Regions from separate parts of the Homo sapiens genome. Here region 1 is linked to region 2. Evidence: promoter capture Hi-C in 16 types of primary human blood cells and fetal thymus (Javierre and others, 2016). All regions are on one chromosome and are shown on one strand. The core of a region is centred on a gene start or on the middle of the fragment in contact, and the rest is flanking DNA. Distances in the headings are between cores, read along the strand shown. Region 1 has its middle 3.1 kb from the start of COA7. Region 2 holds the start of KTI12 (KTI12 chromatin associated homolog).

Region 1 (3,358 bases), core at 475-2,974, 670 kb after region 2:
CCGGCTAATTTTTTTTGTATTTTTAGTAGAGACAGGGTTTCACTATATTGGCCAGGCTGGTCTTGAACTCCTGACCTCAGGTGGTCCGCTGGCCTCGGCCTCCCAAAGTGCTGGGATTACAGGCGTGAGCCACCACACCCGGCTGACTTCCCATTCATCTTTGAATTCCATCCAGCCCTACTTTTGAATTCTCAATGGAGCTAAATCCATGGCTTCCCATCGCCTATAACAATGCTTTCCAAATGGCTCCATTATTAAGCTATCCCCAATGGCAGCAAAGAATGGACTATTTCCAACCACTTATTTATTGGAAGGCAGCCAATAATGTCTGAAATCCCAGTTTTATTTTTTAAATTCATAGGATTTTACATTCATTTCCCCATAATACATCTTTCATAGGATAACAGAAGATTGCCTTTTCTCCCCCAAGCCTTTGAGTAAAATTGACATTCCAGGCAATATACCACATTTACCTGTGGTTTCTTATACCCTGATCACCTTAGGGGACTCCTCAGTACACATGGCCCAGGATGGGAATCCTTGAACTTTGGTTTGAGGTCATCTTCTTTAGGATGGCCTTCAAGACCCTGTGCAATCTGATTCTAGCCTTATTTTCTGCCTCTCTTCCCCCACATCCCACCAACCTTCTGTTCTCTGAATAGATCCCAAGTTTGTGTCCCTGTTTACCTCTGCTCTTGATGCCTGGACCACCCTTTTTGACACAAATCGGAAATACTCTCCTATGTAAAGTCTTCCCAGACACAACAATTACACACATTCAAATTAGATTTAGATGCTCCCATTTTGGTGTTCCACACCACTTGGTTTATTCTGGTATAGTGTAGTAGGAAAGAAAGAACTGGCTTTGGAGTGGGGACAGATCTTAGTTCAGAATCCATGTTCCATGTTTATTAAATTGTAACCTTAAACCAATCATGTTTGTGAGTCTGAATCCTCTTCTGTAAATGCAGATCCATTTGTAATGGCTGTCAGAAGGACTACAAGTTCATGTATGCAATGTGCTTGGCAGAGCGCCTGGCTCAAAGTCATTCCTGTTCCAGGAATGTTTCTTGTCATGCCAATAATGGCATGAAAGTCTGTGTTCCCCACCAGACTGTGACCTCTGTGTCCTGTATGCTGGTCACAGGGCCAAGAATAGAATAGGGCTTGATGATAGAATAGAGCAGGGTGATGTCGATTACTAAAATCTGGGAATGTTTCCCTTTATTTTCTGAGTTGAACTGCATTGAAATGAGATCACCTGAGCGGTAGAGGGCACAAGAGAGTTAGTTGGTGATGAGAGGCTCAACCAAGTAAGAGGTCACTTTTTTTTGTTTTGCTCTTTCATCCAGGCTAGAGTGCAGTGGCGTGATTTTGGCTCACCGCAACCTCCGCCTTACGGTTTCAAGCAATTCTCCTGCCTCAGCCTCCTGAATAGCTGGGATTACAGGCGCCCACCACAATGCCCGCCTAATTTTTGTATTTTTAGTAGAGATGGGGTTTCACCATATCGGCCAGGCTGGTCTCGAACTCCTGACCTCGTGATCCGTTTGAACTAACTGTTGCCTCTGCCCTAGAGTGCTTTTCCCCTGTATTTTTTTTTTTTTTTTGGCTTGCCTTCTTAAGTTCTCTGCTTCAATTTGACATCGTCCATGTGGTCTTAGCTCATTCTTGTTATAATAACAGTGTCTTGATTGTGCCCAGCAATATTAGGTGCCCAAGTATTGTTGACTGAATTAAGAAGAGGGATTATCATTCCAAATAATTTGGTTTTCATTAATGGAACTTAGAATATCACTGACTCTTGCTCTTTTGACCCAGGTTTTTCTTAAAGCTATAAGAAACATTAAATGAAGGTCTAATTGACATACAGGAAACTGCACATAACTTTAAAGTAACAATTATGAGTTTCTACATATGTATACACCTGTAAACCATTATCACAATCAAGATAATGAGCATATTCATCACCTCAAAATTTCCTCATGTGACTTTGTACTTCATTCCCTCCCCAGCAACCATTAATCTGCTTTCTGTCACTGAAGATGGGTTGCATTTTGTAGGATATTATCTAAATAGAATGATACAGTAAGTACTGTTTCTTTTTGTATAGTTTCTTCGATTCAGCATAATTATTTTGAGATTCATCCATGTTACCACACGTATTAATAGTTCATTCTTTTTCTTAGTGAATGACATTTCATGATGTAGATATATCACAATTTGTTTATCCATTTGGGTTTCCAGTTTTTGGCTTACAAATAAAGCTGCTGTGAATATTTGTGTACGTGTCTTTGTATGGGCATTCATTTCCATTTTTGGGGTTCATACCTAGGAGTGGAATGGCTAGATCATATGGTAGGTATATATCTAACTTTAAGAAACACCCAAACTGTTTTCTAAAGTGATTCTACCATTACATTCTTACCAGCAGTGTTTGACAGTTCTAGTTGCCCTACATCCTCACCATAATTTGATGTGTGGTCAGTCTTTTAAAATTTTAGCCATTATAGTGAATATAACAGTATCTTATCATAGGTTTAGTTTGTATTTTTTTGAGTGACCAATAATGTTGGCATCTTTTCATGTGCTTATCTGCCATCTGTGTATCTTTGATGACATGTTTGTTAAAATCTTTCGCCCCCTTTTTATTGGATTGTTTTTTATTATTGCATTCTAAGAGTTATTTATATATTCAAGTCCGTTATCAGAAGTTTTGCATATATTTTCTCCCAGTTTGGCCTGCCTTTTTTGTTTTTATAACAGTGTCTTTCAAAACCAAAAGTTTTTCATTTTAATGGTGTGTCTAGTTTATTGATTTTTTTCCTCTTGTTAATAGTTTGTGCTTTTTCTTTCGTATTCAAGAAGTCTTTGCCAAACCCAAAGTCACTAAGATTTTATCCTATATTTTCTTGTAGAAATTTTATGGTTTAAATCTTATATTTAGAAAGCCTATGATCCATTTCAGATTAATTTTTGTATGAGGTATGAGATAACAGTTGAGGTTCACTTTATTGCATGTGGGTTTATAATTACTCTAGCACCATTTGTTAGAAAGATTATCCATTCTCGGCCTCCCAACGCGTTGGGATTACAGGCGTGAGCCACCGCTCCAGGCCTCGGGATAGGTCTTAATACCTCCTTTTTATAAAGGAGGTCCAGATAAGTAAAGTGATTTCCACCAGGTCACACAGCCCGCTAAACCTCTCCCAAAGGGTTACACGTTGGTAAAGGAGCCGCCCCGTGAGAGAGACCGGACCAATCACGTTTGCTGTGAGGTCACTTTGGAGGCCTGAGATTGGTGCTCGTGTCTAAACGGACCCGATCTTTCTGAGTGGCTGGTGCAGCTGAGGGAGGT
Region 2 (3,506 bases), core at 849-3,348:
AACTCCTGACCTCGATTTTGGACTCCCAAAGTGCTGGGATTACAAGTATGAGCCACCACACCCGGCTTCTCACCACATATCTCAAGAGCAAAAACACTGTATCTAATTGGTCTTTGAAAATCACAGCCACTGTTAAAGTAGGTACCTACCATTTGTTCAATGAAATCAATGAAGAATGAAAGACAAGCTTACAATGATATTTGCCTTGAAATGCAGAATGAAGCAAAACAGTTACGGAAATTGTCATAATATAATTACTGTAGAGTAGCTCAAAACATCTACTCTCTCAGAACTATCAAAATACTACTTCACTTAAAGGCAGAACAATGACAAGTATACCTAAAATGTTACATGAAGTTACACAGGGAACATTAAGTGAAAGAGATTCCAGTAGACTATTTTAAAAGATTTTATTAGAGGAAATAATCTAGTAGATAACTTTCTTACTTCCACAAAAACAAAGTTTCTCAAGGATACAAACCAATGGATTTATCTGTGAACTCGGTCCCAGAATAGAAACTAGCAAAAAGTCAGTACAGTACTCAAAAAATACTTTTGTGGTATGAAAAAAGGGCAGGTGCAGATGTAGAACTGTACCATCTTCAGTTTCTGTTCACAATTGTTTTAAAACAATTCTCATCTATCCAGTCTGCTCTCCCACGCCTCAGATGAGGGAAGCCAATGGTCAATGCTCTGTGATAGCCCAAGTAGGATCCAATCTAGGTAATCCCTGTCCACCTTAGCTCTGTCCTCTGAGGGATTTGCCAGGTTGCACCACAATAGTTCTCCATTCTCTTTAGTCTGAACTTATGCTGTAAACCCAAGGCCTGGCACAGGGGTATGCAGGAAAGTTTGAGTGAATCAGTCACAACAGCTCTAGTACAGTACTGCATCGATATGCTCTGGAGACCTGCAGCCTATTTTTCCCAGAGAAATAAAGTGGAGTGGAGATCAGAAGCCATGGCTTCCCCCCTACCTCCTCTGGTCAGTGCAGGCTCTGGCTCAAATACTGAAGAAACATGTTGGCCAGTTGCGGCAAGTTCTCATTGTTGGGATGCATTTTAGTGTACGAAATAAACTGGCGACGAAGGCGACTCAGTTCTGCCATGGTCAAGGGCCGGGTAAACCGCAAGTGCTCTGTGGTACCAGGAAGCGTGAGCAAGTCCCCGGGGACAGCGCTCTTCTGCGCTTCCATCAATCCGGCCAGTACTTGACTCGTGACCTGGTCCAACTGGTGCAGAAAGCTGCCGGAGGCGAGGGGCTGGGACTGCGTAGACTGATGGGGTGGTGGGGCCCGGTTCTCAAACAGGGCAGAGCGGATCCCCGCCAGGGGCAACGGCTCCTCTAGGCCCACCAAAGTGAATAAAGGCCGGTCCCAGCGATTCCGAGAATCGGGAGCCTCAAAGCGCAGCGTTAGGGCCTCCAGGAGTTCGGGAGAGTAAAAGGCACCGGACCCATGCTTTGCAGATTTCTCTGAATCCGGAGTCACAAGAGCTGGAGACTCCGCAGCCCCGGATTCTTCTCGCTCCAGTTCCTTGGGTACGTCGGCCTGGGCACTTCCATTTACTACAGAGTCCGCAGTATGCAGTTCCCTGAGGACGCTGCTGCCCGCCGCCTGGGCTCTCCCGTCCTCCTCAGCGCGTGGCCGCCAACTCACACTGACGTTCCGGCCAGGGTTCTCGTTCGCGCCCGCCACCTGAGGTCCCGCGATCGGGCCGCCGGGCCGTACGCAGTAGACCAGGCAGAGCGGGGTGCGCGCCGCCCGTGCCAGGCAGTAGAGCTCGTAACGGAAACCTTTGATGTAGTTAAGCGAGTCCAGGATGACCACGTCGTGGCGACTCAGGCGCCGTTCCACGGAGGCTCGCAGAGCTCCACGCAATGCCTTCTCACGGGCAGAATCGCCGTACACCGCTGGGTCCTCTGCGCCCAGGACAGCTGCGTCGTCCACCACGTACACCGCGCGGCCCTCGGCAGCCAGCGCCACGCGCAACTCTTCAGCACGCCGGCTCTTGCCGCTGTACGGCAGCCCGCAAAACACCACGAGCGGCATCCTCTCAGGGAGCGACCATTGGCAACCGCGCTGCGCCAACTTCCGGGTTGTACGCGTCTCCGACGTAAGCCGGAAGTGCAAACTGCTCTTCCTGTCTCCCTTGACTTTTACAGACCCTCTTGTTTCTATGGAAACAGGAGTTCTACGCCAGCTAGGCCCAGGTTCAGCTTTCTCAGAAAGGAGATACAGAGACTATAATGGCATCAGTTATTTATGCCAAATGTTATAGGCCTCAGGAGAATGTGATCTTCCTGCAGCGAAAGACTGCCCGTCCATTTTATTAATAAGGCCTAAGGGGCATTAAATATTGTAAGCAATCAGCACTATATTTAGCATATAGAAGGCAATTAATAAATGCTGGTTCTCCTTCATTCCTCCTCTTAAACCTACTGGCTCTCAGTAAATGTTTATTCAATTACCATTTCAATCATTCAACATCTCCAAGGTTGGGAATTCAGAGATGAACATAAAACGCTTTCCCCACAAAAGATAAAAGGTCTGAATGGGAAGGATCAGGCGCCTACAATCAGAGTAATAAATACTATAATGGATAGATGCAGGTGAGGTTATAAAAGAACAGAAGGGAAAAACAAACTACCCAGAGAAATCACTGAAGACTTTATGTAGAAATAGTCATTTGACTTAGAACTTGAAAGACAAATAGGAATTTTTCTCCTTAGTAGGGTTGCCAGATAAAATACAGGATGCCCAGTTACATTTGAATTTCAGATAAACACCAAAAACATTTTTAAGCTTAAGTGTGTCCCAAATATTGCATAGACATATTTAAAATTATTTGGTGCTTATCTAAACTTCAAATTTAACTGGGCATCTTTAATTTATTATTATTATTTATTTTTTCTTTTTTAGAGATGAGGTTGTATGTTGCTAAGGCTGGTCTCAAACTCCTGGGCTCAAGTAATTGTGCCACCTCTGCCTCCCAAAGTACTGGGAATACAGGTGTGTGAGCCAAGGTGCCTGGCCTGCATCCTTTATTTTATTTTATTATTATTATTTTTTGAGATGGAGCCTCGCTCTGTCACCCAGCCTGGACCACAGTGGTATGATCTCAGCTCCCTGCAACCTCCACCTCCTGAGTTCAAGCGATTCTCCTGTCTCAGCCTCCCAAGTAGCTGGGACTATGGGTGTGCGCCACCATATCTGGCTAATTTTTGTATTTTTAGTAGAGACGGGGTTTCACTATGTTGGCCAGGCTGGTCTCAAACTCCTGACCCCAGGTGATCCACTGGCCTTGGCTTCCCAAAGTGCTGGGGTTAAAGGCATGAGCCACTGTGCCTGGCCATCCGTTATTTTTATTTGCTCAATCTGGCAACTCTATTATTGTAGGTTTGAGACCCAGAGCCATGAAACTGTTGGATCTCTTGTATAAACAGCAAGCACTATAGGATGGTAGGTGCAGAAATGTGAGTGTGCCTGTGCATGTGTGTATATTGTA

The links. Contacts are between HindIII fragments. The CHiCAGO score rates a contact against its expected background, and 5 or more counts as called.
Region 1: a contact is called between a fragment that was not itself captured here and the fragment with the promoter of KTI12 in region 2, in 1 of 17 cell types (fetal thymus). The highest score is 9.1, in fetal thymus.

Annotation. Positions count from the first base shown.
Region 1 is chr1:52,699,798-52,703,155 of GRCh38, forward strand. No RefSeq gene overlaps it. Among named protein-coding and RNA genes, the nearest start is that of COA7, 3.1 kb to the left of the region's middle. RefSeq lists enhancers at 3,081-3,358, 3,329-3,358. The HindIII fragment of the contact is 3,859 bases long and covers 1-3,358 here.
Region 2 is chr1:52,031,712-52,035,217 of GRCh38, forward strand. KTI12 (KTI12 chromatin associated homolog) reads right to left here and starts at 2,099. Exons shown (of 1, transcript NM_138417.3): 1 at 392-2,099. The coding sequence starts at 2,050. The coding sequence ends at 986. The region is part of intron 2 of TXNDC12 (thioredoxin domain containing 12); the gene reads right to left. RefSeq lists an enhancer at 1,806-2,105. The HindIII fragment of the contact is 2,616 bases long and covers 186-2,801 here.